Regions from separate parts of the Homo sapiens genome. Here region 2 is linked to region 1. Evidence: promoter capture Hi-C in human tissues and cell types (Jung and others, 2019). All regions are on one chromosome and are shown on one strand. Each heading gives the region's core, a stretch centred on a gene start or on the middle of the fragment in contact. The rest is flanking DNA. Distances are from core to core; before and after follow the strand shown. Region 1 holds the start of SNRPA1 (small nuclear ribonucleoprotein polypeptide A'). Region 2 has its middle 61 kb from the start of ASB7.

Region 1 (5,195 bases), core at 1,780-4,279:
GGGATTTTAGACACTGCCTGGGGCTAATTCCACTGTCATACCATCTAGTGGAACCTGAGAAAAGGTGCAACTCCTGGGTGGCACAAACTACTTAACTCACTTCATGATTTTTTGTGCAGGCAGCACAGAAATACAAATAATTCTGGATTCCCAGCTCAGGTACAAGACACAACAACTATACTATAGGGGAATGGTTAACCTATGAGAAATATTTCTATCTGAAGGAAATCCCACTCACCACCCAGTACCTTTAAAGACATTATCTATACACCAAGTGCTTTTTTTCCAATAAAGTTTACACAGAGCTGATGAAGGCAGGGTCAAAAAAGATCTCAATTTCAATAAGTAACAGTCTAGAAATTAGTTGCAGTTAAAAAAAAAAAAAAGCAGAGACGCTCAGTCAAAAGTATAATTGTTACCTTTATATATCCTTTTACTATGACCCCTTTGATAATTGTTTTAGAAGCCAAAATGTATACAAAGCAACATGTTTTTATTTAGAAACTTAACCATGAAAATAAAAATACATGATTTCTGAACAGATACAAGTAAGACTAGACTAATGCCAGGTTAATCTCTGGATCTCTATAGGAAAAGTGAAGTTCATTTCTCATTTTAAGAAAAAACATGTATTGAATGTGGCTTCCATTATGGAAAAAATATTTTTTCAAAATATAAATAAAAAAGAAAAAGAAAAAGAAAAAGAAACATGTAGGTTTAACCAGTAGCACGTGCTACAACTTCTTCAGGAAACACTGCAACATTTACTCTAGGGGAAAAAATTACTTTCCCCTACAGACACGTACCATATTCTGTTGTTGTTCACTAACAATGTTTTCAGTCTTCTCAACAAAGGAAAACCATCCAGTTTCCTGATCTCATTGTCAGAAAAATCAATAGCATCAAACTGGTCTAACGTAGCACCTAGATTTTCAATGACGGGAATTTTATACCCTATAAAATGGAGGAAAAAAACACAAGAGGTATTAATATAACTAAACAGTTGCCCCTTAAAGCATTAGCTGTATTTCATAGTATCTGACTCCAGGCTTTGATTTATTCAGGAAGTATTACCTAGCACCTATGTCGGGTCACGCATGACTTGCCGCTGTTTAAGATACTAGAGAGAAAACGCTGAACGAGTCTCAAGTCCCCAGTGCCATGAAGCTTAGAATCTGATGACAACAAGGACAAGGACAATAACAATGGCTGATATAGGCAGCTAACATTTATAAGAACATTTACAAGGTGCCTCACACTGTCCTAAGTCGTTTGGGCTAGTTAAGCGGAATCGGCACAACAGGAGTTTACACTTGGAGCTGCTTAGTCTCAGTGCCCAAACGGCGTTCAAACATTGTGGACGACAGTTCTCCACTCTTGCATCTCCACAGGCCAGATTCTTAGAACCCATCAGAACAGCCTCAACATATCACGACAGTTCTCCCTCCCCTCCCCCAGCTCCAATTCAGAATTGAAGATCAATGGTTTAAATACAGTAATAAATCTGTGAACACTCAAATGTTAATTTGTCTAATTTGGGCATAATTATTGTGTTAGGCACTATAAGAAAAGAAATATTCCGAAGAAGCAAGGTCTACTAAAAAAAGAACTTACCCAAAGTTAAAGGACACAATTCAGAGCTGTACTACACGTACTGCATCAAAATACGTATTCTCAACACTGCACATGCTCCATAAAGAGAAATGGCAGAGATCATCAAAAGTGGTGAGTTGGGCCGGGCGCAGTGGCTCAAGCCTGTAATCCCAGCACTTCGGGAGACCAAGGCGGGCGGATCACCTGAGGTCGGGAGTTCGAGACCAGCCTGACCAACATGGAGAAACCATGTCTTTACTAAAAATACAAAAAATTAGCCGGGCGTGGTGGCGCATGCCTGTATTCCCAGCTACTCGGGAGGCTTGAGACACAGGAATCACCTGAACCGGGGAGGCGGCGGTTGCAGTGAGCCGAGATCACGCCACTGCGCTCCAGCTGGGGCGGAAAGAGCGAGACTCCATCTCAACACAACACAACACAAAACAGTGGGATTTCCCAAAGGTCGGCAAGAAATCTAAGCAGATCCCGCAGCGATGCTGCTCCGAGGCCATAGGTCCCCATGGGAACAAATCTCAGGCTACGACAGCATGGTCTTATCCTCAGAGAAGTTGCTCTATCACGTCCCTTTTAAAGCCGTCTCCTGAAATGCCAACTAGCTAGCTGCCCTCCCAGTATCTTACCAAGTCTTGCTAAGGTTGAAATAGTACAGGAATCTGAATAATTGCGAGCGCTTCCACAACTTACACACAGCACCCGGCGGTGCAAGCCTGGGTGACACAGTTCAATTTTTAAAACGTCTTCATATAGGGGAAACGCCAGACAATTAAAGCTACTAAGTAGAAAATACTGGAGGAAACAATCGCGGTTGTTCGGGGACTTAGTTTCCTCCCTCACATTAGGAATAATGAACACATATCCTATCTACGCTCAAAATATCATCTGGCGGCAAGTATTAAGAACCAATCCCGCGCCCTGCACTTGCGTTACAACCATTAATGAGCCGCTCTTCCGGGCCCTCAAACAGCCAGCGGCGAAACAGCCAAGCAAGGCCTAACAGGGCCCCACGAGGACGCACCAGGAAGTAATGAAGTCACCCGTGCCTGTCAAGAGGCACGGCGCTAACAGAAGGCTCCCAGGAGCTTAACCGGATGCTCATCTGGCAACAACGGCAAGAATCAGGCCCGGCGTTCCCTGCGCAGCCCGGTCGGAGCCCAGACAACCGGCCCGCGGGCCAAGCTCCGGCCTTCGGTGCACGCGGCAAAGCGCGGAAAATAAGGCGGCTCGGTGCCGCCTGGGGACTGGCCGCCCACGCCCCCGGACTCACCCCGGAGGTCCAGCTCCCGGTCGCGCACCGCGTTGGTGTACTGCGCCGCCTGCTCGATCAGCTCCGCCGTCAGCTTGACCATCCTGCAGCCTCCCGTTCCCCCGCGCTGTGGAAAGCCCGTGGCCTCCCGCCAGCGAGACGTCCCAGCGTGCCCCGCGCCCCGCCGCCAGGCAGCACCAATCGCAGCCGCCGAGTGCGCGCGCAGCTCGACCGCCAGGCCGAAGCAATCGAAGAGCCACGCCTCCGGGGGCGTTCTTGCCGGAAGTCGTGGCGCGCGCACAGGGGATGTGTCTCGTTCTGGGTTGTTTCCTAGGGTGTGTTTCGGAGTCTGGAGGACCCCTGATTCCAGACGTTGGTGTTTAAAAGTTAAGGCGAATGTGGAAACACCCGAGGGGAACTTTCTCATGCATTAGCGCACCTCGAGGTGGGAGGGGAAGCGGTGACTGTCCTCCCTCCACCAGCCGTCGCGGGAACCCGTGGGGTTCAGTGAAGGGTCCAGCAGTTCAGGTGCCCGCCCCGGGCCTGGGCCTTGGCTCCGGGCTACAGTGTGAGATCCCGGGCTAGGTGGCCCGCCTGGGGCAGGTCGCCGGGACAACCCCACCGCCCCGCAAGTCCAGCCCGGCCTCGGGCACGGTAGGGTTTGCGGTTAAGCTTGTGACCTTTAGACTTCTGAATATTCATATGTATGAAATGTGATATACATAAAAGTGTGCATATCAGGAATTTACAGTGATTAATGACCAGAGTGAACACAGCTGCGTAGCCGACACCGGGATCCAAAACACCGCTATTCTGAAAGCCTCCCTCTTTCCCAAAAGGCAACCGCGAACTCAACACTACAAATTCGGTTTGCTTGCTTTTGCTATAAATAGAATCATGCAGTATGCTTTTTTTTTTGGCCTAGTTTCATGGAGTCTATATTATGTCTGGAGTCCATCCAGGTTGCATACAGAGATGGTTTGTTTGCTTTTGCTGCTGAAGAGAATTCCATTGTATATATTATACCATAAATTACTTATTCTGCTGTTGATAGACATCAAAGTTGTTTTCAGTTAGGGCTATTCTGAGTAATGCTACTATGAATTTTCTGGTACGTGGTTCTGATGCACGTTTGCATGAGTTTGTCCTGGAGTGGGACTGCTGGGACATAGGGTATATCTATCATCAATAAGTAATGCCCAACAGTTATGCTAAGAGGCTGAAATAATATACACACTCCAGCGGTGTGTAAGGGTTTTCATGGCTTCCAGCTTCAGCCTTCTTGGCATTTTAACTCTATAACTTCAGCTATTCTGATGGGTGTGTGGTGGTATTGCACTACTGCTTTGCTTTGCTTTTCTCTAATAACTAATGAAGCTGAGAACCTTCTCATGTGTATGGTGCCCATTCTGATAGCTTCCTTGGTTAAGTGTTCTTTCGAGTCCCTGGCTCATTTTTTTTTTTTCCTTATGGAGTTGTCTGCCTTTTTTCTTATTGATTTGTGGAATTTCTTTATATATTAGGGATATGAACACACTCTGTGGCTTGCCTTTTCACTCTTAATGGTGTTGATGATTAGATTTTTTTTTTTTTTTTTTTTTTTTTTTTTTAGACAGGGTCTCACTCTGTCACCTAGGCCGGAGTGCAGTGGTGCCATCAGGACTCACTGCAGCCTTGACCTCTCAGGCTCAAGAGATCCTCCCACCTCAGCCTCCCAAATAGCCGGGACTATAGGCACAGGTCAACAGGCCTGGCTAACTTTTGTATTTTTTGTAGAGACAAGGTTTTGATATGTGGCCCAGGCTGGTCTCCAACTCCTGAGCTCAAGTGATCCACCTGCCTCAGACTCCCACAGTGCTGGGATTACAGGCGTGAGCCGCCTCGCCTGGCTGAGAAGTTTCCAAGTTTTATGTAGTTCAATTATTTTCTTTAGGTTAGTGGATTGGGTGTGTGTGCATGTGCATGTGCCTTAGGAAATCTTCCCTTACCCCCATCATATTTTCCTATGTGGTCTACTAGACGATTGTTTTGCTTTTCACATTTAGTTCTGCAATCCACCCGGAGATGATTCTCCTTGAACTTTTATTGAAGTATGATATACATATAGAAGAATGCAAACTGAACACACCCAACCAACTAGCATCCTCGTAAGAACAGGACATTGCCACATTCCAGAAGCCCTCCTCCTGTCTTCATCTAGTCACCACCCTTGCCCCAAGGGTAACCATTATCCTGCCATCTTGTATAGATTTGCTTTATCTAGTTTTGTATTTATGCAAATGAAGTACCTTGCATATTTTTTGCTAAACATTATGTTTGTGTGTAGATGTAGTTAATC
Region 2 (5,309 bases), core at 1,361-3,860, 630 kb before region 1:
CAAGAATTGCCTGAGCCCGGGAGGCGGAGGTTGCAGTGAACCAAGATCGTGCCACGGCACTCCAGGCTGGGTGACAAAGTGAGGCTCCGTCTCAAAAAATAAAAAATAATAATCTCCGTGTCTAACAAGCACCCAGGTGAGGTGTGTGCTGTTGGTCTGTGGACCCAACTTAGAACCACTGTGTGAGGGTATTTGGACTGTGAGGTGTGTGCTGTTGGTCTGTGGACCCAACTTAGAACCACTGTGTGAGGGTATTTGGACTCTTTGTAGCAAAGAAAGGACAAGGTAAAAAAAGAAAAAGAAAGAAATCCTACAGTCACTATGAGATGTTAGAAAAGCCACCTATCTGCTTATCCATGAGATGTAAGTAAAGATGCAGTGATTTTTCAGAACCCACACGTGAAACTGAGTCTTTGTATTTTATGGGCCGGCCTTGAATAGTTCTGCATGTGTTATGTGAACAAAGACTACAAATCTCTCCGGCTACACTACAAGCTGGCTCGACATCGAGACCTTCATGTCTCCAATTATCTTTTGCAACTACTTAATTTCAGTTGGGCACAGACAAAACCAGTAGCCTGTAGTTCTGTTATCCTGCTGTTAATGTTCTTCAGTCTCATTTGGTGGCTTGTAAATAATAATGTGTGCCAAACGTGAATAATGACAGCCCTAGCCTGCTCCAGGGTGGGAGAGACGATGACTCTAGCTGCCTCAGCCAGCATGTGCCTTGGCACTGCCCGTGAGGCGGCCTGCCAATGAAGTGTCTCTAAGAAGCATGGGTAGCATTGCCCCAATTGCCGATCGCAGATAGAAAACACCTTGCCAGCTCCAGCTGGCTGCAGCCTGACCAACCCACCCCGTAACCCCTGAACAGTAAAAGAAACCATGGCACCTACGAATCCTTTCCCAGCCACTCAATGCAGCTGAGCTTCTTGCGGGGGCATTAAGAAAAATAAATCAGCCAGGAGGTGAGCATAGCCTCACATCAGATGCTGCTGCTACTGTGGGTCCTGGAGCCACTGGTGGGACCACCGACATGGAGTCATCTCTGCATGGAATCTGCCTACTAAAACAGAGGTGGTCTGCCAGGCATGGTGGCTCACACCTGTAATCCCAGCACTTTGGGAGGCCAAGGCAGGCGGATTGCTTGAGGTCAGGAGTTCGAGACCCGCCTGGCTAACATGGTGAAATGCCATTTCTGCTAACAAATTTTAAAAAATCATCCAGGTGTGGTGGCCGGCACCTATAGTCCCAGCTACTCAGGAGGCTGAGGCAGGAGAATCACTTGAACCTGGAAGGTGAAGGTTGCAGTGAGCTGAGATCGCACCACGGCACGCCAGCCTGTGTAAAGGGCGAGACTCCATCTCATTTTTGGTTAACAGCTTTTTTGAGATATAAGTGTTATACAAAAAATCACACATATTTAATGTATACAATTTGATGGATTTGACATATTCCCCTTTGAAAGTAGAAAAACAGACCACTCTGAAGGAAAAAGGACATCCGAAGTTTCTCTTCAAAATACAGTCATCTACTACAGACAGCCCAGGGCTGGGTCCAGCCTGCCCTGCTCCAAAGCCTGGCCAGTTTTGTAGCCCCTCTTAATGAGAACACAGCCTGTCAAGATGTAAGGGAGAGGGGGTTCAGGAATCTTTCATCAGGCAAATGTGCTTAACAAAATATTTAGGATCTTTGAATCCTCACAGAGATTTCAATGGTCATATTTTCCAACCTCTATATCTATTAACTTGCCTAACAATATTTTTCTAGGGGGAAATGCTGCTAGATCCCTGGCCTACTGGTTCAGGACCCCAGACAAGTCCTGGCTTGCCATGATATTGATTTTATTTGACTGTTTTGGGTTGGGAGGGAGAAAGTGAGTTTGATGAAATGTACATGTTTTGGAAGTAAGTACATGACTGTGTTATTTTTCTCTGAGCCTTCATTTTAATTTTTTTTTCAAAAATGAAAAAGGAAAATTGTCTTCTTACCCACTCAATTGTTTTTTGTGGGCTGAGTCTATTTTTTCCTCAGTTTTTGAGTTTCAGCACAGAGGTTGGTGCATTGCAAGTGTTGACCCCTTACTTAGAAGTTTTATTCTGTTTTGGTGGAAAAAACAGACTCCTAAAGTTCATCAGTTAGGTTGGTTATTGACATGGAGAGATTCCTTTCTTTCTTTCTTTCAACTGTTATGTCCAATGCTTCCTATATCTGATGCACGGTAGTCCGTCCTGGAGGAGGAATGGGATCAGGAACCCACCTTCCAAATGTTTAGACCCCTGGAGAATAAAGAAGATAAACAAAAATTATTAATGCAGTAACACGAAAGCGAGGCTGCCGAAGAATTCGAGATGAACAGCTTCTGCAGTGCGCTCATGAGACCAGGCTCCATTTTCTTCCTGATTAGCTTGCTAAATAGACAGAAGAGCCTAACCTGGCCTCACGCAGGCTGACACTGAAGGCTGGCTGTGCTGGTAACTGGTGGTATGACTCTGGCTGCGTCATTTGCCCAGGGTTAGAGGCATGAGCCGAGGGCTCCTTCAGCTGCCACCCACTGTGATCCTCACATCACAGAGAAGCCAGCAGGGGGAGAAACCAGGAACTCAGGGCAACAGATGGAGCCAGGAGCCCCACATCCGTTGCCTGTTACCACGCTCCCCTCTCCACCCACCCTCTCACCATGGCTTATTAGAGGTGGCTTATGAAAAGGCTGGAATCCATGCTCCAGGGCCCGTCTTGCTCTGGTGGAGGGTTTAGCACCATGAAACTCACTTTGTAAAAGTGCACCAGCTGTGAGAAATAAGCTTAAGCCTCGGTAATCACTTTTTCACTTTTACCAATTACTCTCGGCTGCTTTGTGGCAGAAGTTAATACCGAGTAAGAATTTTCAAGAAGCCTCATTTTCCTTGTCTAATTAAATTAAATACTTGAAAGGTGATTTGCATCTTGATTTTCCCCCCATTTAGTTAACTGAAAATTACAGGGTCTTTCAGGAGTTTGAGTCACCTGATTCGCAGGCTGAGCCTCTGGGGTCAGGGAGCCCTCACCCTGGGACCCTCTCCTGCCAGCTTCCCACCCACCGGTTTTTTGTGTGCAGCTGTCCATGGTGAGGCCCTTGGACCAACACTACCCAGGAGAATTTAGGGAGGGCACGCCTTGTTAGTTTTCTAATACTGTCCAAAAATCAGCACAGGATGCCTTTGTCTCCAGGCTTTTAATACTCCCAACATGAAGCGGGTCTTTCTAGGGTGAGAAAACACAAGGACAGTCTCTTCCCATCCAGTTATTTTTGTTGCAAACCAGTAACAGAATTCGCCTGGACTGAATTCATCGGGCCAGCGTCTCTAATCTTCCTCTGTAGTAAAGATCTGGACTATTTAACCGCTAGAATTCCTGGCAAGTTATTTCAATGGAGACAACAGGATGCTGAAATTTGAGACTTACCGTACTGTACTTTCTGTTTTTTCCCCTTTCTGCCCTTTGTCTCTGAGATAACACACATGCATTGGAAACTCTAACGTGCTCTGCAGAAGTATTTCCTTGGACATAGGAGAGGCGTTGGGGGCATCAGGGAGCCCGGCCGATGCATCGAGTGTGAGTGAGTGCGTGAGTTTCCCTGAACATCTGAAGAGTCATCCTCTGTCAAGTGACTTTGTCTTGTGTAGGTTTCATGTTTGAACCAAATTATTCAGCAGTATTCCTGCTCTAAGTCACCTCCCCAATGCATATAATTACTGGGTGCATCTTTTGAAAAGTCCTTTTTTATTTCAAAATGAGCATATACCCTTAAAACATAATCAGTGAACAAATACCTTAGGTAAAACGTGAAAGCCTGTTCTTCCTTCCCAGTGCTAACCATGCAGTGTGGGTTCTTCCAGCTCTTTCTCTGTGCATCTATCTGCATGGAGTTTACAAAAATGATCTCTCTGCAGCTTACATGTTTCTACTCGCAGAAACCCTTTCATGTTACCACGTGCAGATATAATGAATTCTTGTTGTTGGCTAAATAACATTCCACATTCAATTTTTCTTCCAGCCAACATAAAGAGCCTTCCACATGGCCAGGTGCTTCTCCAGAAATACAACAGGAACAGGTTCTATTCTACTGTCTTTCTCTTGCTGATTTTTTTTTCTGGAATCTAAAGTATTTAACCTACTTCCCAATCACCTTATTATCATCAAGTGCTTTTATTTTTTCAGGCTGAAATTTGCTTGATGTGTATCTGTTGATTGTCCATTTACATAAAAATATAAACTCCATTAGAGCCATGATGTTGCCTGTCTTTACTGATAAACCCTCTCCACTAAAACAGTATTCGGCATGTGCCAGTAACTTAAAAACTATGGATTCTATGCATGGATGGATGGATGGATGAATTGTCTATGGATAAAGGCAGTTGGGGAAGAAGTCGAACTGCTCATTGATGACCTTGATTGGGTTTTCTTAAACTTCCAACTCAATTCTACCTACTTTAGACAGTTAAATGGAGACATGACTGACTCTTATGTATATTCATTTTATCTTTATATGTGCGTGTGTTTACCCATTCTTTTGTTAAAATATTAACTACTTCCATACAGATGGGCAAACAGGCATTCCCTGAGACCTCCTGGATCTTAGATACCTCACCCAGATCCAGGAACTCCAGAACTGGCCCTTGCCCCAGCAGGTGGGCTCTCTGGCACCTGGCTTCTATGCAAGGACCAGTGTCAGCTGAGACTGGCAGAGCCCTTGTCTGGAAAGTTGTTCGGTGTTTTTGATATCACCCCTGCCTTCATAGACTTGATAATATTCTGGTTTACTCTTTCAAGAGGATCATTTGGCTTTAACCTTTAAAAACACAGATCAGACATGTCACTCCTCCTCTCAAACCTACTGATGCCTTCCAACTCACCAAATCTGAAGTGCTTCCCGTGGCTTCCAGCCCTCTCTGGCCTGTAGCACTTTGCTGGAGCCGCTGTGAGTCCTGCAATCCCCACGTGCAGAGCACACCCCTGCCCTGCAGCCTTTCTGTGCACGGACTGTTCCTCTGCCAGAAGCACTCCTCCCTCTGGAACACAGGGCGGCTCGCTCACTCACTCCAGCCTCAGCCCAGAGGGCACCTTCTCCAAGAGCTCAACCCTGGCCCCTTGGCCAAAAGTCAGACTCCGTATTCCCAAGTCCCTTATCATGCTTTATGTATTTCATCATAGCATGACTTATGTATATATGTCTATGTGCCTGGACTATAGCAGGCCCTCAGCAAATATTTGTGGAATGAATAACTAAATGAACTAAAACATCCTGTAATGGGTATATATATATATAT

What was found. The method cuts DNA at HindIII sites, captures the fragments that hold promoters and counts their contacts. A contact is called where the count stands out against the background at its distance.
Region 2: a contact is called between a fragment that was not itself captured here and the fragment with the promoter of SNRPA1 in region 1, in 1 of the 25 tissues and cell types used here (spleen).

What each region holds. Positions count from the first base shown.
Region 1 is chr15:101,292,219-101,297,413 of GRCh38, forward strand. SNRPA1 (small nuclear ribonucleoprotein polypeptide A') reads right to left here and starts at 3,030. Exons shown (of 9, transcript NM_003090.4): 1 at 2,879-3,030; 2 at 807-954. The coding sequence starts at 2,960. SNRPA1-DT (SNRPA1 divergent transcript) reads left to right here and starts at 3,130. Exons shown (of 2, transcript NR_186319.1): 1 at 3,130-3,511. RefSeq lists enhancers at 987-1,066, 1,984-2,615, 3,179-3,228, 3,289-3,378 and a silencer at 2,759-2,948. The HindIII fragment of the contact is 7,299 bases long and covers 1-4,709 here.
Region 2 is chr15:100,660,658-100,665,966 of GRCh38, forward strand. No RefSeq gene overlaps it. Among named protein-coding and RNA genes, the nearest start is that of ASB7, 61 kb to the left of the region's middle. The HindIII fragment of the contact is 6,198 bases long and covers 1-5,309 here.